Linked DNA regions of Homo sapiens: all the other regions are linked to region 7. The links are contacts of gene promoters, found by promoter capture Hi-C in blood cells and fetal thymus (Javierre and others, 2016). All regions are on one chromosome and are shown on one strand. Each heading gives the region's core, a stretch centred on a gene start or on the middle of the fragment in contact. The rest is flanking DNA. Distances are from core to core; before and after follow the strand shown.

What was found. Contacts are between HindIII fragments. The CHiCAGO score rates a contact against its expected background, and 5 or more counts as called.
Region 1: a contact is called between a fragment that was not itself captured here and the fragment with the promoter of RPS25 in region 7, in 2 of 17 cell types (fetal thymus and naive CD4 T cells). The highest score is 5.8, in fetal thymus.
Region 2: the fragment with the promoter of RNF26 here is called in contact with the fragment with the promoter of RPS25 in region 7 in 2 of 17 cell types (fetal thymus and neutrophils); the score reaches 7.8 in fetal thymus.
Region 3: a contact is called between a fragment that was not itself captured here and the fragment with the promoter of RPS25 in region 7, in 3 of 17 cell types (naive CD8 T cells, total CD4 T cells and non-activated CD4 T cells). The highest score is 7.4, in naive CD8 T cells.
Region 4: a contact is called between a fragment that was not itself captured here and the fragment with the promoter of RPS25 in region 7, in 7 of 17 cell types (M1 macrophages, non-activated CD4 T cells, naive B cells and 4 more). The highest score is 7.5, in M1 macrophages.
Region 5: a contact is called between a fragment that was not itself captured here and the fragment with the promoter of RPS25 in region 7, in 6 of 17 cell types (non-activated CD4 T cells, total CD8 T cells, total CD4 T cells and 3 more). The highest score is 7.9, in non-activated CD4 T cells.
Region 6: a contact is called between the fragment with the promoter of TTC36 here and the fragment with the promoter of RPS25 in region 7, in 6 of 17 cell types (naive CD4 T cells, naive CD8 T cells, non-activated CD4 T cells and 3 more). The highest score is 9.2, in naive CD4 T cells.

Annotation. Positions count from the first base shown.
Region 1 is chr11:119,310,080-119,312,779 of GRCh38, forward strand. It overlaps MCAM (melanoma cell adhesion molecule), which reads right to left. Exons shown (of 16, transcript NM_006500.3): 6 at 2,691-2,700; 7 at 2,448-2,569; 8 at 2,187-2,349; 9 at 1,973-2,091; 10 at 1,729-1,870; 11 at 1,451-1,572; 12 at 1,201-1,342; 13 at 1,011-1,106; 14 at 677-824; 15 at 270-387. Among named protein-coding and RNA genes, the nearest start is that of MIR6756, 1.6 kb to the right of the region's middle. The HindIII fragment of the contact is 5,572 bases long and covers 1-2,700 here.
Region 2 is chr11:119,333,217-119,335,916 of GRCh38, forward strand. It overlaps RNF26 (ring finger protein 26), which reads left to right and starts at 1,311. Exons shown (of 1, transcript NM_032015.5): 1 at 1,311-2,700. The coding sequence starts at 1,907. RefSeq lists an enhancer at 953-1,844. The HindIII fragment of the contact is 9,565 bases long and covers 1-2,700 here.
Region 3 is chr11:118,598,893-118,601,592 of GRCh38, forward strand. ARCN1 (archain 1 coat protein complex I subunit delta) reads left to right here. Exons shown (of 10, transcript NM_001655.5): 10 at 1,733-2,700. The coding sequence ends at 1,822. Among named protein-coding and RNA genes, the nearest start is that of PHLDB1, 7.4 kb to the right of the region's middle. The HindIII fragment of the contact is 9,298 bases long and covers 1-2,700 here.
Region 4 is chr11:118,701,949-118,704,822 of GRCh38, forward strand. LOC105369519 (a long non-coding RNA gene) reads left to right here. Exons shown (of 4, transcript XR_007062909.1): 3 at 2,660-2,874. It also overlaps the pseudogene RNU6-376P. Among named protein-coding and RNA genes, the nearest start is that of TREH, 24 kb to the left of the region's middle. RefSeq lists an enhancer at 2,766-2,874. The HindIII fragment of the contact is 1,242 bases long and covers 630-1,871 here.
Region 5 is chr11:118,575,245-118,577,944 of GRCh38, forward strand. All of the region lies in intron 1 of ARCN1 (archain 1 coat protein complex I subunit delta), which reads left to right. It also overlaps a transcript of IFT46 not described here. Among named protein-coding and RNA genes, the nearest start is that of ARCN1, 4.2 kb to the left of the region's middle. The HindIII fragment of the contact is 2,250 bases long and covers 208-2,457 here.
Region 6 is chr11:118,525,968-118,528,723 of GRCh38, forward strand. It overlaps TTC36 (tetratricopeptide repeat domain 36), which reads left to right and starts at 1,507. Exons shown (of 3, transcript NM_001080441.4): 1 at 1,507-1,645; 2 at 2,636-2,756. The coding sequence starts at 1,528. KMT2A (lysine methyltransferase 2A) reads left to right here. Exons shown (of 36, transcript NM_001197104.2): 36 at 1-865. All of the region lies in intron 1 of TTC36-AS1 (TTC36 and KMT2A antisense RNA 1), which reads right to left. The HindIII fragment of the contact is 1,033 bases long and covers 874-1,906 here.
Region 7 is chr11:119,017,075-119,019,842 of GRCh38, forward strand. RPS25 (ribosomal protein S25) reads right to left here and starts at 1,269. Exons shown (of 5, transcript NM_001028.3): 1 at 1,208-1,269; 2 at 884-979; 3 at 288-471. The coding sequence starts at 1,210. TRAPPC4 (trafficking protein particle complex subunit 4) reads left to right here and starts at 1,692. Exons shown (of 5, transcript NM_016146.6): 1 at 1,692-1,896; 2 at 2,069-2,243. The coding sequence starts at 1,722. RefSeq lists enhancers at 991-1,060, 1,081-1,310, 1,565-2,263 and a silencer at 1,551-1,670. The HindIII fragment of the contact is 1,015 bases long and covers 1,201-2,215 here.

The DNA of each region.
Region 1 (2,700 bases), core at 1-2,500, 290 kb after region 7:
CCGTCTGACTGCACTGGTGAAATGGCCACACCCAGAGCCACGGGCATTGGTCAGGAAAAGGTGATGGGACAGGGTCTTTCTCAGTCTTCCTCCAAGCTCCCTCAGCCACTTGCTTGGCCCTGCCATCTGTGAGTAGTGTTAAGAAGGCAAGATGGGGCCTGCTCCCTATCTCTGACAAAGAGGGATGAAGGATAGAGAGAACCGTTAGTCCCTACTGCCCCCGGTCCCTGAGGATGTGGCAGGCTCTGGCCACAGGAACCGCCTCCTACCTGGTCTCCCGGAGCCCTCTTGTCACCGCTGCTGCCCTGCAGGAGGCCCATCTCTTCTGGGAGCTTATCTGACTTAACTTCAACTACAAGTTCGCTCTTACGAGACGGGGGTAGCGTGCTGGGAGGAGGGAGGGAGGTGAGAGGTTGGTATCTCAGGGCCACAGGAAGAGAAGGGCCCGCTGTGAAGGATGTGGAATGGATGAGGGCTCCTTGCTCCAGGGCCAGCCCAGGGCAGGGAAGCAGGTCATGAGACCATGTGGCTGATGGAAGCTGGGCAGTGGGTAGTGGAGCAGGCAGCACCCTGACCCAGGGCCCCACTCCTGCTGTCAAGGGGCAGGCGGGCGCTGGGCAGGCAGCAGGCTGGGTGGCAAAACGGGCGGGGGCGGAGGGGCCGGTGTTGGGCTTACATCTCCTGCTTCCCTGAGCGCCTGCACGGCAGCTTGCCCTTCTTATAGAGGAAATAGAGGACAGCGCCCAGCACCGCCAGGACCAGGATGCACACAATCACAGCCACGATGACCACGCCCCGGCTCTCCGGCTCCGGCAGCTTTCTCTCTGCGCCACAAAGACACTCCTCGTCACTCCCTGCCCCAGGCCACTTCGTCACCATCGTTGGCCCAGCCAGTCCAGGGCCGACAAGATGGGGCTGCTACTCACCTTTCTGGACAGGGCTCTCTGGGGAGGGACAGGGCAGAAAGGATGCCCTGGCACAGCCCTGTTCTCTTGCCAGGCCTGGCTTACCTGTGGAGGTGCTGTTGGCTCTGGTATGAGGACTGGCAGTGGAAGTGCTGAGGCCAGTGGTTGTGTTGGAGTCTGGTGTGAGGGTGGTTAAATTGACTAGGAGGCAGAGGGAGGGGTGTTAGGAGAAGCGCAAGTTACTGCCCGTGCCTGGGCCTGCCCCTGCCATCCCCTGCAGGGATGCAGCCCTCACCCAGCTCCAGGAAGAGGATGCTGGTGTTTTTGCCCAGGTCGTTGGAGGCCGTGCATTCAACACCTGTCTCCAACAGCTCCGGGGTCACGAGGACATTCAGGGTGCTCAGGACTCGCTGTGGATCTTGGTCTTGTTCACTTGCCTGCGAGGAAAGGAAGGAGGCAGCTCAGGGGATGGGGAGGATCTCTGGTCCTGGCCACAAAGCGCAGGCAGGGATTAGGAGAGTGTGGCAGATGAGACACCCGCTCACCGTGCCGTTGACGTTCCAGGAGATGGTGGGCCGGGGGTGCCCTGACGCTTCACAAGACAGATTCAACACCATATTCTCTTTCACCCACACCTTCCTCTCCTTGAATGCCATCCAAGGGGGGCCTTGGGGAGGTAGGGAGAGGTGAGGTGGCAAGCCCAGCTAGCCTGCCTCCCCCTCCGCACCAGAGCTCCCCAGGGCAGCAGGTGGCTTTTTGTCAAAGAGCTTAAAAACCACCCCACTTGGGGTGACCTGGTCTCTACCCAGAGGGAGGGCCTCACCAAAAATGGCCACGTTGACCAGCTGTGTGCGGTTCAGGCCGGGTATGCTGGGCACAGACGCCACGCAGCGATAGCCGCCTCCTGCCTCCCGTTTCAGGTCATGCAACTGAAGCACAGGCCCCCTTTCCAGCACCTGGCCTGTCTGGGATGAGAGATGGGTCAGAGGGTCTGGGAAAGAGCACATTCTTGTCACCGCCAGCCCCACCCACCCCATCAGCCCCTTGCCCCAGACCCGCCTGGGTACCTCTTCTCTCAGCCACTGGAACTCGAGGTCCTGGCTACTCTCTGCCTCACAGGTCAGGGTGAGGCTGCTGCCTTCCTGTCTCTCAGGGGCTGCGGGACTCACTCGGACGTCAGACACATCTGGGGGTACAGCAATCATGTCACCCAGGGCAGGGTGGGGCCAGTTCCCTATTGCCCCAGCCTGGTCCCCCTGTCCTGGGTCCCCAGCCCCTCACAGTTCACCAGTAGTTCCTGTGGTTCACTCAGCAGCGATATCATGGTGTCCAAGTCCAGGCCCTGACATTCATAGCGCCCACTGTGTTCCTTCCGGGCAGGCTCCAGCACCAGGACCCCGTTGTCGTTGGTTGTCTCTTCCTCTGCCTCCCTGGTGCTGGGGTTCTAGGGAGGATTGGGGAGGTGAGCAGAGTGCACCTCCCGCCACTCCACCTGGGTCTCTGCTTGCATCCCCACCTGCACCCAGCACAAAGCCCCCACACCTGCTTGCTGATGCTGAAGTGTGGTGGAGGGTTGCCATCAGCCAAACACCTGATTTCCACGCGGTCCCCTTCCTTCAGCATTCCCACGGGCTCCACTTCCAGCCACACTTTTTCTGTCGGGTCTGCATAGGCAAAGGGGGTAGCTCTTGGCCCATGAGTCAACCCTGGGCTGGATAAGGGGGAGCCAGCAGGAGTTTCCAGCAGCCCCAGCCCCAGTAAGCAGAGAGTCAGGTTAGTACTCACAGAAAACAGG
Region 2 (2,700 bases), core at 61-2,560, 320 kb after region 7:
ACCATAACCTGGCCAGGGCCTGAGAGCAGGGAGAGAGAAAGGGTAGGAAGAAGCCAGAGGAGTTTCAGCGACTGCAGTCCTTCCTCTGCACTATAGCGTACCCCTACCACGATCCCAAGGCCTCAGTAAAGGTTTGCTGCACACCTCAGCTTCTTATCAGTGATGCTTTGGAGAATGAAGGACTCTGAGGCAGTGTTCAGGGCAGACTGAAGGAGGACGGACACTTTCAGGAGCCCAGGAGTGGAGATGGAGAATTCAACTCAAGTAGGAAATTCAGCAAAGGTGACCAGGGGAAAGATAAGTCCACTAGGAGTCTGCTAAGCATCCTTGGAGTTAGTAGAAAACGCCAGGATTCCCAATATATTTGGGATGGGGTTTCAAATATATTTTGACTATTGTTTGAGTATTAAAGAAAAGGGCAGGGCCGGGCTTGGTGGCTCACGCCTGTAATCTCAGCACTTTGGGAGGCCGAGGCGGGTGGATCACGAGGTTCAGGAGTTCGAGGCCAGCCTGGCCAACATGGTGAAACCTCGTCTCTACTAAAAATACAAAAATTAGCCGGGTGAGGTGGTGGGCACCTGTACTACCCGGGAGGCTGAGGCAGGAGAATCGCTTGAACCCGGGAGGCAGAGGTTGCAGTGAGCCGAGATCGCGCCACTGCACTCTAGGGTAGGAAGGCCCAGGGTAGGAAGCTGAGCGGTTTCTAAATCTGTAGCCCCTTTTTCTCAATGACAATGAAGTAATCTTCCGAGATGTTGAAAAACCTGGTGAGGAAAGTTTGGAATAGCAGTTTGGGAATCCCCTGTAATAATCTGCTTTCCCTTGTGAACAGCAGGCACTGTCTTAAAATTTTTTTGTATCCTCAATGCACTGTAGGAGTTCAATAAATGATAGAATAGATGAATAAATAGAAGAGAATGAGGAGACGGATCTGGGCAGGCTGCGAAGGCGGTGCTATTCCAAAGCCCAGCCCAGAGGCAGTGACCTCCGACCCAAGCCAAAAAAAAAACCTCGCGTTCAGAGGCCGGGAGAAAGAACAGCTCCCAAATTGAGGGGAGTCCAAGACCCTGCTCTTTTAGAGGGTGGGGCTAGGAGAGCGTATTTCGACGCTGCCCGCCAACGAACCAATCCCCGCCTAAAGGGGGAGGGGATTTAATCTGTCGCCTCTCCTTCCCTTTGGAAAGTAAATACGTTCGGGCGCCATTCAAACGGACCAATGAGTGATCGACGTTTTTGTGGTTGGCCTTCACCGATTGGCTGGAGTTTGTCGTCCCTCCCTCCTCGTCACGCCTCTGGCTCCACCCCTTTGCACACAAGATGGCGGCGCCCAGCGGAGTAGGGGCTGCGCTTGGGGTTTGCTGAAGCTGGCTGCCTCTCCCACTCCCCTTTTGGGTGCAAAGCGCCGCTAGCGGGAAGACGGGGGCCGGGCGGGGACAGGGGCACCTGCGTAGCTGGACTGAGAGCCTGCGCCCAGCTTACATCGACCCCACCCGGCCCCGGCCCGACCCGACGCGACCCGATCCGATCCGATCCCATTCCATCCGTTCCTCGTCTCCTCCCGGTCTGACCCGTTGCCCGGCCGTGGTTCGCCACACCAGGCATCCAAAGCTGAGGTCGCTCCTACGGCCTGGGCTCGCCTTCGCTTTAGAGATGTTTGGCCTCTTCCCTCCCAAACAGCCCATCTTCAAAACCTGGACTCTTGGACTGGCACCTGGCCACCTTTCCCTCTACCAAGACTCCACTTCCGTCTTACCCACTTCTTCCTCAGATTCTTGGTACCCCCTGGGTTGGAGACTGCTCATTTTCCTTCCAAATTAATCCCAGACCCCCTAAAATATTGACAACCTTGACAACCCCCCAACCGAGGAGCCAGACTTTGTTTTGGACTAACTTCCATAGCCCTATCATGGAGGCAGTGTACCTGGTAGTGAATGGGTTGGGCCTGGTGCTGGACGTGCTGACCTTGGTGTTGGACCTCAACTTCCTGCTGGTGTCCTCCCTCCTGGCTTCCCTGGCCTGGCTCCTGGCCTTCGTCTACAACCTGCCGCACACGGTACTGACTAGTCTTCTGCACTTGGGCCGCGGAGTCTTGCTTTCATTGCTGGCCTTGATCGAAGCCGTGGTCCGGTTCACATGTGGGGGCTTGCAGGCCTTGTGTACTCTGCTGTATAGCTGCTGCTCTGGCCTAGAGAGCCTAAAGCTCCTGGGGCACCTGGCCTCTCATGGGGCACTGCGGAGCAGGGAGATACTGCACCGGGGCGTCCTCAATGTGGTCTCCAGTGGCCATGCTTTGCTGCGCCAGGCCTGTGACATCTGTGCCATTGCCATGAGCCTGGTGGCTTATGTGATCAACAGCCTGGTCAACATCTGCCTCATCGGCACTCAGAACCTCTTTTCCCTGGTGCTGGCCCTGTGGGATGCAGTGACCGGGCCTCTGTGGAGGATGACGGACGTAGTGGCTGCCTTCCTAGCCCACATTTCCAGCAGTGCTGTGGCCATGGCCATCCTCCTTTGGACACCCTGCCAACTAGCCCTGGAGCTGCTGGCCTCAGCTGCCCGCCTCCTGGCCAGCTTTGTGCTTGTCAATCTCACTGGCTTGGTGTTGCTAGCTTGTGTGCTGGCAGTGACGGTGACTGTGTTGCATCCGGACTTCACCCTGAGGCTGGCTACCCAGGCACTCAGCCAGCTCCATGCCCGGCC
Region 3 (2,700 bases), core at 44-2,543, 420 kb before region 7:
TTCAAGCAATTCTGTCTCAGCCTCCCCAGTAGCTGAGATTACATGCGCCTGCCACCATGCCTGGCTAATTTTTGTATTTTTAGTAGAGACAGGGTTTCACCATATCGGTCAGGCTGGTCTCGAAATCCTGACCTGAGGTGATCCGCCCACCTCAGCCTCCCAAAGTGCTGAGATTACAGGCGTGAACTACCACGCCTGGCGGATTTTTTTTTTTTTTAAGACGGAGTTTCACTCTTGTTGCCCAGGCTGGAGTGCAATGGCGTGATGTTGGTTCACTGCAACCTCTGCCTCCCAGGTTCAAGCGATTCTCCTGCCTCATCCTCCTGAGTAGCTGGGACTACCGGCATGCGCCACCACGCCTGTCTGATTTTTGTATTTTTAGTAAAGACGGTATTTCACCATGTTGGCCAGGCTGGTCTCAAACTCTTGACCTCGTGATCCAGCCACCTCGGCCTCCCAAAGTGCTAGGATTACAGGCGCGAGTCACCGCGCTCGGCCCGGATCATTATTTTTTAACTCATCATTCTTCCAGTTTTTATTGTTGTTGTTGTTTTGAGACGGAGTCTTGCTCTGTCACCAAGGCTGGAGTGCAGTGCGATCTCAGCTCACTGCAGCCTCTGCCTCCCAGGTTCAAGTGATTCTCCTGCCTCAGCCTCCCAAGTAGCTGGGACTACAGGCGTGTACTGCCACACCCAGCTAATTTTTTTTTGTATTTTTAGTAGAGATGGGGTTTCACCATGTTGGCCAGGCTGGTCTCTAACTCCTGACCTCAGATGATCCGCCCACCTCGGCTTCCCAAAGTGCTGGGATTACAGGAGTGAGCTTCCACGTCTGGCTGTTCTTCCAGTTTTTTAATTTGCATTACTAGGACCCAGTTTATATTATTAATATTCCCCTCTTTTTGACTTGCTTGTTGTTCTGGCCCTACCTTAGCTTCCCATATGGTCTCCGTCTCCCCTGTAAATGCTTAGAAAATTGCAGCTTCCTCCCTTGAATGATTCCAAAGAGCAGTTCTCTCTCCCTATCCTGTTAGTGACATAACCCCATCAGTGTTGGAAGCAACTGTATTGAACTCAAGACATTAGATAGAAATGGGTAAATTTTCCTATTGGGGCTATTCAAAGATTAGGACATTATAATTGCTCTCCCAAAACTTCATTAGAAAATACGAATCAGTGGTTCAAGTGTTGTATTGGTGCCGTTATAGGTACCATTGTTACATGTAATTAATTAAGCTGGACATTTATTTATTTAAAAAGGAAAAACCTCATTGGACCAGCCATGCCTAAAAAATAAGTATGATAGAGCAGCTTACTGGGACTTTTAACACGAGACTTTGAGAGCAGAGCAAATGAATAATGTGAAGAGCTAGAACGTTGCCTTTTGGGTCAGAATGTTAATATATCATCCTGATAGAATGTCTATGAATTTCATAGGTTATACAGGGCAGGGCTGGGCTGTGGCCACTCATTTTGGAGCTTTTACTTAATACTACGGAACATCTCGTCCCAACAGTTGTCTTTTCTCCATCTAGAAGAAAAGCAGCTTAATCATTTTGGTGGGGAAGAGTGATGCTGTGACTTTCAGTTGTGAATTGAACATTTTTCTAGTATTTTACAGTTACTTTTAATACCGCTTTTAGGGAAATTGATATGTTCTGTAATGAGAATGTAGTCAACATGATGGAGACTCAAACCTCCTGCTTTACCTTACTCTTTGTTTATTTTCCTAGGTTACCAAAGTGACCCAGGTAGATGGAAACAGCCCCGTCAGGTTTTCCACAGAGACCACTTTCCTAGTGGATAAGTATGAAATTCTGTAATACCAAGAAGAGGGAGCTGAAAAGGAAAATTTTCAGATTAATAAAGAAGACGCCAATGATGGCTGAAGAGTTTTTCCCAGATTTACAAGCCACTGGAGACCCCTTTTTTCTGATACAATGCACGATTCTCTGCGCGCAAGGACCCTCGACTCACCCCCATGTTTCAGTGTCACAGAGACATTCTTTGATAAGGAAATGGCACAAACATAAAGGGAAAGGCTGCTAATTTTCTTTGGCAGATTGTATTGGCCAGCAGGAAAGCAAGCTCTCCAGAGAATGCCCCCAGTTAAATACCTCCTCTACCTTTACCTAAGTTGCTCCTTTATTTTTATTTTATTATTATTATTATTATTATTATTATTTTTTGAGATGGAGTCTCACTTTGTAACCCAGGCTGGAATGCAATGGCATGATCTCAGCTCACTGCAACCTCCGCCTCCTGGGTTCAAGCAAGTCTCCTGCCTCAGCCTCCGAGTAGCTGGGACTACAGGTGCACGCCACCACGCCTGGCTAATTTTTTGTATTTTAGTAGAGACGGGGTTTCACCGTGTTGCCCAGGCTGGTCGCGAACTCCTGAGCTCAGGCAATCCGCCCACCTCAGCCTCCCAAAGTGTTGGGATTACAGGCATGAGCCACCATGCCCAGCTGCTCCTTTATTTTAATCCCTAAATATAATCCCTAAATATAGTTATATTTCATACTTAGTTTGTTTTTAAAAAGTTTTCTCTGTAGAAAATTTTAATCATTCATACCCTTTACCTTTAGGTTTTTCTTTCTATACATTCAGTCAGGCACTGGGATCATCTGTTTACAGGCATTATATTTATTTGGCACTCCTGGAACAAGTATATCTAACCCATTCTTGATTTTTGGACTAT
Region 4 (2,874 bases), core at 1-2,500, 320 kb before region 7:
TTTGTCTTCAGTGTTATTCGGTTTCTCTAAAATGTATTTAACATAGTCTTATTTATTCTGCTCCAGAATTGTTGTGCTGCTATACCTCCGCCTTCTTTTCCTCTTTTCTTTCTTTTTTAATTTTTATTTTTGTAGAGGCAGTGTCTCACTTTGTTGCCCAGGGCGGTCTTGAACTCCTGGGCTCAAGAGCTCCTCCTGCCCAAAGTGTTGAGATTATAGGGATAAGCCACCACTCCTGGCCCCCTCCTTTTTTTCCTGGAAATTTTTTTGGTGCTTATGATGTGCAGTAATAAAAATACGATTTTAAGTGTTGGGGATTAAATAGTGAACAAAAAAGAGAAAGTCACTATCCTCATGATAGTGATATTTTATTTTATTTTATTTACATTCACAGTGCTTGGTTCACAGCACATATGCTAAAACTGGAACAATACAGAGAAGATTAGCACGGCCCCAGCACAAAGATGATGTGCAAATTCATGAAGTGTTCCATATTAAAAAAATAAAATAAAAATAGCAATACATTTACATTTTATTTTATAGCGACAGGGTCTCACTATGTTTCCCAGGCTGGTTTTGAACTCCTGACTTCAAGCGATCCTCCCGCATGAGCCACCATGCCTGGCCTAAGCTTACATTTTAGTTAGAGAAAGAGCCTGGGAATGAAGCTAGCATGGAGAAGAGCAGAGCTGAGATTTAAAGGGAGCAGATCCTGAAGCCTGGTTGAAAGCTGCATCGTTTCCCACCTGAATTCAACCACATTCATTTTCAGTAACACGAGCAGTAACTGCTTCTTGTTGTTTAAGCCAATTTAAATATATTTCTATGTCAATTACAAATGAAAGGGTATTAACTGTTAGGTGCCCAGCCTCAGCCTAATCTAGATGTTCTTTCTCTGCAACTTTGTATCTTCACTTAATTAGTTTACTTGAAAATTAATTAAATTAGGCCTGGTGCAGTGGCTCATGCTTGTAATCCCAGCACTTTGGGAGGCCGCGGCGGGCGGATCATGAGGTCAGGAGATCCAGACCATCCTGGCTAACATGGTGAAAACACGTCTCTACTAAAAATACAAAAAATTAGCCCGGTGTGGTGGCATGCGCCTGTAGTCCCAGCTACTGGAGAGGCTGAGGCAGGAGAAGCACTTGAGCCCAGGAGGCAGAGGTTGTGGTGAGCCGAGATCTCGCCACTGCACTCCAGCCTGGCGACAGAGCAATACTCCATCTCAAAAAATAAATAAATAAAATAAATAAATAAAAAAAAACACTGACACAGTGGGGATGAAGTTTCAATGTAAATTGCAGAGAGGACAACATTCAAACCATGGTACCTAGTCATAGTATTTTACTCTTTTCTTATGCTTTTAATTCCTGAAGTATCTAGACTTTCTAATCCTATTTTATAATACCTTTGTAGTCCTTATATAACATCTGTGTTTTGGTATTTGTTTCAGGTTTTTTCCTAAGTATGTGTCAAGATCCCATTTTCCAAGTCAAAAATGGGATTTTGCTACACATTATTTCATAACCTGCTCTTTGTTTTTCACATGATAAGGAACTTAAAACAACACACATCTTTTTCTGAGGGCAGAAATTTGGGCCCAGCTCACCTAGGTTCTCCGCTTCAGAGCTTTACCAGGCTGCTGTCCGGGTGCTGGCTGGGGCTATGGTCTCATCTGAGGCTCAGCTGGTCTCATCTAAGGCTTAATATTGGCCCCCAAGCTCCCTCAGACTGTTGGCAGAATTCTTCTCCTTATGGTTGTAAGACTAGAACTGGGGTTCATGTTTTCTTGTTGGCTGTCAGCCAGGGATGGCCCTTAGCAACTAGAGACTACAGTAGTTCCTTGTTGAGTGGCCCTGTCACCACAGAGAAGCTTACTTCTTCAAAGCCAGTAATAGACGGAGAGTCTCTGACCCTCTGAGAGGGCCCAGACACTCTTTCAAAGACTTCCACCTGATTTAGTCAGGCCCACCCATGAAAATGCCCCCTTGACTTCAAAATCAACTGACTTAGGACCCTAATTATGTCTGCAAAACCCCCTCACCTTTTTCACAGTCTATTAGCTGGAAGTAAGTTGCAGGTCCTACCGGCGCTCCAGGGGAGGAGGTTACACAGGGTGTGAACACCAGGGAGTGGGACCACAGGGCCCATCCCTGGGTCTATTCATACCATGTTTACCTTTCCATGTCAGTATCTTTTCTTTTCTTGGTTTTTTTTTTTTTTTTTTTTTTTCAGATGGAGTCTCACTTTGCTGGCCCAGGCTGGAGTGCCGTGGCCCCATCCTGGCTCACTGCAACCTCTGCCTCCCAGGTTCAAGTGATTCTCCTGCCTCAGCCTCCTGAGTAGCTGGGACTACAGGCATGTACCACCACACCTGGCTAATTTTTGTATTTTTAATAGAGATGGGGTTTCGCCACGTTGGCCAGGCTGGTCTTGAACTCCTGACCTGCAGGTGATACTGCCCGCCTAGGCCTCCCAAAGTGCTGGGATTTACAGGCACGAGCCACCGTGCACGGCTGTTATTATGTTTTCTACCACCTTCTAATGTTAATGGCCTCACAGCATTCTACTATGTGGATGTGTCAACATTTATTTAATTATTTATCACTAAGCACTGAATAAACATAAACATTTTAGTTTATTCCTTTTTTTCTTACAGACAGCGCTGGGGAGAATGAACGCCTGAGTACTCATGTCTTTATGCACTGTAGTATTATTTCCTTACAACAGACTCCTGAACCTGGAACGGCAGTGTCAAAGGGTTCACAAAATGTTAGACTTCTGAAGCAAATCAGATGGCACCTTTTTTGAATAATGAAGAATCTTTACCCCTGGCATGAGGAGCTGAGGACAACTCCCACTCCACGATGTGAA
Region 5 (2,700 bases), core at 83-2,582, 440 kb before region 7:
TGGGATTATAGGTGTGAGCCATGGCGCCCGGCCCCTGTATTATTTATGTATCTTTTTAATTGTGTTTTGAGGGACAGCAAAGAAAGAAAATGATTCTCTTGAGTTTCCATTGATTTGCCATCTATTTATGTCTTCATATAGAAGTTCACTGCAGAAACTGATAACGGGTGTGTGTGTGTGTGTGTGTGTGTGTTTTAATTCTCTGCAAGCTTTTGTTTTAGAATAGAAATGTGATGGACTTAAAACCCTCACTGAGTAAATTACTTTTCAAGTTTTAGGTTTCGTATGTGGTCTACATTTTATTGTAATCTTCTCTCTGATTTTATCTATAATAGCTTCATATAAATAGAAAAGACAGAACAGTCCTCCCTGACAATTATAGAAACTAGCCTTAATATGACCATGAATTGTGTGTGCATGTATATGTGTATAAAATATTGCGGTGAATTACAAAGGAGAAGGTGACTATAATTCTGGAAGTAAGGGATCCTGAAGCATTTAGAGATTCAAGAAAGAACTTGACTTTTTTTGAGAGAGAGTTGTGCATATTTATCCTGAATTATTATACCACCTGTTATTCTTGTATCTCTCTTGCACACACAATTTGTTATGGTTAGACAATTTGCCTTCTGGCAGCCTAATGTTACTATAAAATATTGTTCCAAAGTGGTTAGAACTGGAGCAGTGGGTATAAAATGGAAGTATTGTACATTTTCTGTCACTGTAGTTGTTTTTTTTTTTTTCTGTTACTGTAGTTTTCAAATGCTTAGACTTACAGAACTTTAAAGACACAGAGCACTTTGGATTTCATGTAAACTAACCTCCTATGTTAGGGATATTTCAATAATCAATTAAGTGACTTATCCAAGGTCACATAATTAGTGGCAAAGGCAGAACAGAAACCTAATTCTCCAGGTTTTTTTACTTGAGGCACTTAACAATTCATGTAGTTAAGTCTGTGTAGGAGAGAGTTGTTATTTAGTCCAAAGATAGTGTACTCAAACCATGTAAGAATTATTAAAAGTTGTTTGGCAAAGCTCAACTTTATGAGGGAATTTTTTTTTTTTTTAACCGTCCTGGAGAGATCATCTAACTTATGGGCCCTCAGTTTTCACATCTGTAAGACAATCAAGGGCTCTTGCAAGTTCCTTTTAGATCTGGAATGTTTTTTCCAAAAATGTTAAAAAAAAAAAAAAAAAAAAAAACCAAAAACTTTGTAATCATATTTATTAATTCTTCCTCAGAGAAAATCAGATCAAATTTCAATAGGGAAAATTGTTAACTTACCTTTTAGTATATGCTATATTTTAATAATTGTTAAACCAGTAAACATTAATGTAAAGAGGTTTATTATTTCAAGAACTTTAAGAAGACAAATGTTAATTTAGGATAGGATAAATTTATCATGTTTAGAGGTGACCATACCTTCTAGCCATATTAGTAGCTGTAACAGAGAGACCTGTGTCAACTGCCTGGAACCTGTAATTTGTGGTGTCCTGGGTGTTCGGAGATTTATGCTATACTTAGTATGGGGAACTATGGTCCTATTTTGGAAGCCTTGTTTTGCTTGTATCTGGATAATGGAATGACTCAAAGAGAGACATATGATTTTACCCTACTTCTTTCTTCATCTTGACGTACTGAAAGCCTGGAATTCTGGCCAGGTGTGGCGGCTCATGCCTGTAATCCCAGCACTTTGGGAGGCTCAGGCGGGCAGATCACTTGAGGTTGGGAGTTTGAGACCAGCCTGGGCAACATGGCAAAACCCTGTCTCTACAGAAAAATACAAAAAATTAGCCAGGTGTGGTGGCCTGTGCCTGTAGTCCCAGATACTTGGGAGGCTGAGGTGGGAGAATCACCTGAGCCCAGAAGGTTGAGGCTGCACTGAGCCAAGATCACGCCACTGCACTACAGCTTGGGCAATAGAGCAAGACTCTGTTTCAAAACAAACAAATCCTGGAATTCATCAAAGCATGATCTAAATTCTGTTTCTTTCTTTCTTTCTTTCTTTTTTTTTTTTGAGGCAGAGTCTCACTTTGTAGCCCAGGCTGGAGTGAAGTGGTATGATCTTGGCTTACTGCAACTTCCGCCTCCCAGGTTCAAGCAATCCTCCCACCTCACTCTCCCCGTAGCTGGGACTACAGACGTGCACCACCAGACTTGGCTAATTTTTTGTATTTTTTGGTAGAGACAGGGTTTTCCCATGTTGACCAGGCTGGTCTCGAACTCCTGACCTCAGGTGATCTGCCTGCCCTGGCTCCCAAAGTGCTGGATTAAGGCATGAGCCACCGCTCCCGGCCTAAATGCTGTTTCTTCTATCAAGTCATCCCTGACTGTACCAGCTGGAAGTAATCTCTTCCTCTGAATTTCCACGCACTTTATCGGTTACTCTCTCATGTTACTTAACACATTCTGCCTCATATTACAGTTATTTGTGTTTGTGTCTTATCCCTATTAAGCTTCTTGTAGGCAGAATGCTAGCCTGTGTCATCTTAATTCTCAGAAAGCATGTTGTATGTATAGTAGATGTTCGATAAATAATTACTCAGTTAATTCTTATAATATCGCAAAAATGGAGATTACCAGTACCTATAATTAGTTTTTGAACATGCTCATCAGTAAAGTGGATGGGCCAGGTGCAGTGGCTCACTCCTGTAATCCCAACACTTTGGAGGCCAAGGCGCGCAGATGACTTGAGGC
Region 6 (2,756 bases), core at 257-2,756, 490 kb before region 7:
TCAAATAAATATAAATATGATATATATAGGAACTAATATAGTAATGCACCATGTAACAAAGCCTAGTTCAGTCCATGGCTTTTAATTCTCTTAACACTATAGATAAGGATTGTGTTACAGTTGCTAGTAGCGGCAGGAAGATGTCAGGCTCACTTTCCTCTGATTCCCGAAATGGGGGGAACCTCTAACCATAAAGGAATGGTAGAACAGTCCATTCCTCGGATCAGAGAAAAATGCAGACATGGTGTCACCTGGATTTTTTTCTGCCCATGAATGTTGCCAGTCAGTACCTGTCCTCCTTGTTTCTCTATTTTTGGTTATGAATGTTGGGGTTACCACCTGCATTTAGGGGAAAATTGTGTTCTGTGCTTTCCTGGTATCTTGTTCCGAGGTACTCTAGTTCTGTCTTTCAACCAAGAAAATAGAATTGTGGTGTTTCTTTTATTGAACTTTTAACAGTCTCTTTAGTAAATACAGGTAGTTGAATAATTGTTTCAAGAGCTCAACAGATGACAAGCTTCTTTTCTAGAAATAAGACATTTTTTGACAACTTTATCATGTATAACAGATCTGTTTTTTTTCCTTGTGTTCTTCCAAGCTTCTGGTTAGAGAAAAAGAGAAAAAAAAAAAAGGAAAATGTGTCTAAAGTCCATCAGTGTTAACTCCCTGTGACAGGGATGAAGGAAAATACTTTAATAGTTCAAAAAATAATAATGCTGAAAGCTCTCTACGAAAGACTGAATGTAAAAGTAAAAAGTGTACATAGTTGTAAAAAAAAGGAGTTTTTAAACATGTTTATTTTCTATGCACTTTTTTTTATTTAAGTGATAGTTTAATTAATAAACATGTCAAGTTTATTGCTGCACATGGTTAAGCTTCCTTTTGGCTTTGGTTGGAGAGGGTGGAGAAAAGCGGGAGGGGCATGGCCTGTGACCTGGTCACAAAGTACCTTCCACAGTCCTTTACTTTAAGGTGGCATCACTAAATTATTCCCTGTAGCCCACCTTCAGGTCCACTCCACACTGGCTCTCTTGACTATTTTCTTCCTTTATTCATCAGTGATGTATGTTCAGGACCTAATTAATTGTGGATATGAGGCAGGGTCAAGAGGACAAAGGAACAGGGCCTTTACCTTCTACATAGCTCCCCTGTTTCATCCAAGGAGGTTAAGTATTGATTTTTATCGGTTTTCTCAACTGTGAATATAATAAACTGAAAGCATTTCAGGGAGAAGCTGGAGAACACCTTCTCTAGCTGCACTCCACCTTAAGGCTGAAGCTGGATTTGTTTACTGTTTCTCCTGGGGGCAGGGGCAGTTGAGAAATAACCAAGTAGTCTGCCAAGCCAGGGTCAACCCTCCAGGCCACAGGTTGAGCAAATGCTACAGCCATGGACAGGGAGACACTCCTCACGAAGGGGTGGTCCTCATCCTTTCAGATCAACTTCCTGCTGGAGGCTCCACCCTCACCACGTCCCTCCCTCTTCTCTCATCTGGAGTCACCTTTTGGGATTTTGGAGTTGAGCACCATGGGGACTCCAAATGATCAGGCAGTGCTGCAGGCCATCTTCAACCCTGACACCCCATTTGGAGACATTGTTGGATTGGACCTCGGAGAGGAAGCAGAAAAGGAAGAACGAGAAGAAGGTGGGCATTTGATCTGGAGTGTAGCTCTGCACATAGGCTGGCCTGCTGGCCTCCCGAGGTAGCAGAGAGGGAGGTGGTTTTATAAGGCCCCTTGTTCCATGATTATGATTGAGATTGGAATCAGAGAGGTTGGCTGCTCCTTAGCGCACTGATGGGGGTTTGGTAAGAGATGTCCTGCCAAGAGGAGTAAGCTGGGGTTTGTCTCTCGATCCATCAGCTCTCATGCCTCTGAACTTACCACTTAATTGACTGTATGATCCAAGCTTAACTGCCAGGTGATGTTAAACTCTCACATTTTTGTCATAACAGAGAATACCACCACCAGAACAGAAGACTGAAATAAGGCAGGGCATGGTTGCTCAGTTGAGTGGTTCCAATATAGCAAGCACAACCAGTAACCGTTAAACACTGTCACAAGCCAAGCTCCAAACTAACTCTTCCGCAGTGAGTGCGTTCACTGGCTTTTCCATTAATCCCTAATGAAGGAGTTTTTGATCCTTTGTTTCTAGAGGAGTAAAGCCTACACCTTACTAACTCAGGCCGAAACACAGAGGGATACGTCAGAAGTGATGTTCATGATCTGGGAATGTCATGGTGGCCTTTGCATAAGAGGCGGTGTAGTAGAGTAAAATGCAGACAGGAGCCAGAATGACCTGGGTTCAAATCCAAGCTCTGCAACGTATGGCCTGTTGAGGCCATACACAAAGAACTTGAGCAACTTCTTTAACAGATTGAGGAGTCTGGGCTTCATTCTCTTGGCAATGGGGAACCAACCAAGGCCCCTTCCCAGGTCTCTTGGAACTCAGGCAATGCTAGCTCCCAGCCTTAGTGACCTCATCTCCCCCTACCCCAAACACTGCAACTGACCCCTGCTGTGACCCATACCCAGTCAGCTCTGGCTCAGATCTCAGAATTCCAAAGCCTGAGGTGGCTTTTTCTTCTTGCTACCAACTGCACACCTGGCTTCTCCTGGCTCCTTCCCTGGCCCAGATGAAGTTTTCCCTCAAGCACAGCTGGAACAGTCCAAGGCCCTGGAGCTGCAGGGGGTGATGGCAGCAGAGGCTGGGGACCTCAGCACAGCCCTGGAGAGGTTTGGCCAAGCCATCTGCCT
Region 7 (2,768 bases), core at 19-2,518:
TTCAAAAACGGTTGTCCCTGTAATTCTATGCATCCATTTACTCGAAACATAAAAGATCCTTGGGCTTCACTAAACTGCCACAGGGTCCACGGCACAAAAGTGGCTAAGAACCCTGAGAATTCATCTCAGGATCAGGAGTAAGACGTCAGAATTACATTACTAACAGCCAATGGTCAAGCCACGCTTTTTTTTTTTAATTCTGCTTTTCCAGCAAAACCACTGAAGATGCTTAACATGGTCAAGACAATTTAACCTACAAAAACACACATGTAGGATACACCCCTCACCTTTACTAAGGAGCTCCTGAAGGGCTGCCCTGGCCAGGGAGCCTCGAATCTTCAGTCTCTCAGAGACCACAGCTGGGGTTATAAGTTTATAGTTGGGAACTTCCTTACAGAGTTTATCATAGGTAGCTTTGTCAAACAAGACTAAGTTATTGAGCTTGTCCCGAACTTTGCCTTTGGACCACTTCTGCTCACCAAAACAAAACAGAAACAAGTTAGTATTTCTGGCAGAAGCACCCTTTCCCTCTCGAGTAATCTGCGTCAGAGAAATCTGTTCCACCGTTATCAAGGATAAATTACACATTACTAAAACAAAAACAAAAAAAAAACACCGACACGTTTTTGGCCTTCAAACAGGGGCCGAGCCCCACTAGATCAGTTAAAAATAACACAGCAGGCACAGCGGCAGACACTTCGCACAACAGACCCATTTTCATGATCCTAATGGGAAAAAGAACGAGTGGTGACGGGAAGATAAACTCTCACATTTTGACTCTAGAAATCTACACCTGAAAAACCACTTACTATACAAGTTACCTATTACTAGAGGATTACGAGAGAGTTACCCCTAGTCTCTTTCAGAGAGGTCTTATTTCTACCTTCTTTTTGGCCTTGCCCCCGGATTTGTTCACTGGGTCTTTGTCTTTCTTGGCCGACTTTCCAGCGTCCTTCTTCTTCTTGTCGTCCTTAGGCGGCTGTAGGAGGGCAGCGGGAATGCAACCAGGTCCTCAAATAGCGCCAAAGTCCCCTAATACTGCGCCCTCAGCCCCCGCAAACTCCACCACCAGAGCACATGGGCCAAGCAATAACCGCGCCCGCCCTGCAACCGAGGCCGGCAGGCCAAGGAGCGCTCCCGCCGAAGGCTCTCCCCACTGAGTCCTCAAACCCAAGAACGCCGGCGACTTCACACCCCTGAAGCTTACCATTGCGAAGCTCGGAGAATAGCAGCAGACACCGCAGCCTCGTCAAGATGTCGGACAAAAAGGAAGCGCTGCTCAGAAACGGGCCCAAAAACCACCGTCCGCTGTGAGTACTTCCGGGGCAAAAGGCGGAGCCAGGCAGAAGAAGTCCCACGGCGAAGCGCTCGCCCTCTAGCCTGAGGCGGAAGACAGGAAGTGGATTCTAGTTCCCAAGCCGCACCGCCTAAATACTGCCGGAGTCTGCGCTAGTTGTGACGCATACTATAGCGCTGTTTTCCTGCACTGATAAACGAAAAGCAATCCACCAGGTCTCGGCAGCTAACTTTCCGGCACTACTTATGCCCGAGCGTGTCGCTCCCAGTGCGCAAGTGCAGCAGGTGGCTGCACGGGGGGCGCGGGAGGAGGAGGAGGAGGAGGAGGAGGCTGGGGTGGGGCCGGCGGCAAGTGCTGTGATGCGGTTCCGGGGAGGGGCCGTCGGGTAGAGGCTGAATACCAGTTTCCGAGCGGCAAGGCAGCGATGGCGATTTTTAGTGTGTATGTGGTGAACAAAGCTGGCGGCTTGATTTACCAGTTGGACAGCTACGCGCCACGGGCTGAGGCTGAGAAAACTTTCAGTTATCCGCTGGATCTGCTGCTCAAGCTACACGATGAGCGTGTGTTGGTTGCTTTCGGCCAGCGGGACGGCATCCGAGGTGGGCTAGGCTCGGGCCCGTGGCGGGTGCGGGGGTGGGAGGGCCCCAGTGCTGTAGAAGTGGGCTGGTTGTAGGTGCGGGGTTGGGGGAAAAGGGGTTGTGTCGGGTCCCTTGTCCCCTCGGCGGAATCCCCGGGCTGCACCTTCGCTGACCGTTAGCTTCACCTCTGCAGTGGGTCATGCAGTGCTGGCCATCAATGGCATGGACGTGAATGGCAGGTACACGGCCGACGGGAAAGAGGTGCTGGAGTATCTGGGTAACCCTGCTAATTACCCGGTGTCCATTCGATTTGGCCGGCCCCGCCTCACTTCTAATGAGAAGCTTATGCTGGCCTCCATGTTCCACTCGTAAGTCCCCCGTCTCCTGAACGGCAGCGCTTGTAATTTGTCTACCTTTTCTTAAATCGTCGTTCTGGTGTTATGAAAAACGCAACCGATCCAGATCTAGATTTTAGGTAATAACGGCAGTGGTGTCATCTTTTTTTGCTGGGTGGGGAGGGGCCGCGGAGTTACCCAGGCTGGAGCGCAGTGGCGGGATCTCGGCTCACTGCAGCCTCTGCCTCCCAGGTTCAAGCGATTCTCCTGCCTCAGCCTCCCGAGTAGCTGGGATTACAGGCGCGTGCCACCACGACCAGCTAATTTTTGTATTTTTAGTAGAGAGGGGTTTTGCCATGTTGGCCAGGCTGGTCTCAAACTCCTGACCTCAGGTGATCCACCTGCCTCGGCTTCCCAAAGTGCTGGGATTACAGGAGTGAGCCACCGCGCCCGGCCGAGGTGTCATCTTACTTAAAGTCAACTTCTCTTCTCTGAGCCTTAGTTTCTTCATATTTAAAGAAAGCCAGTTTAACTAAATGACCTTTAAACTTTTTCTGC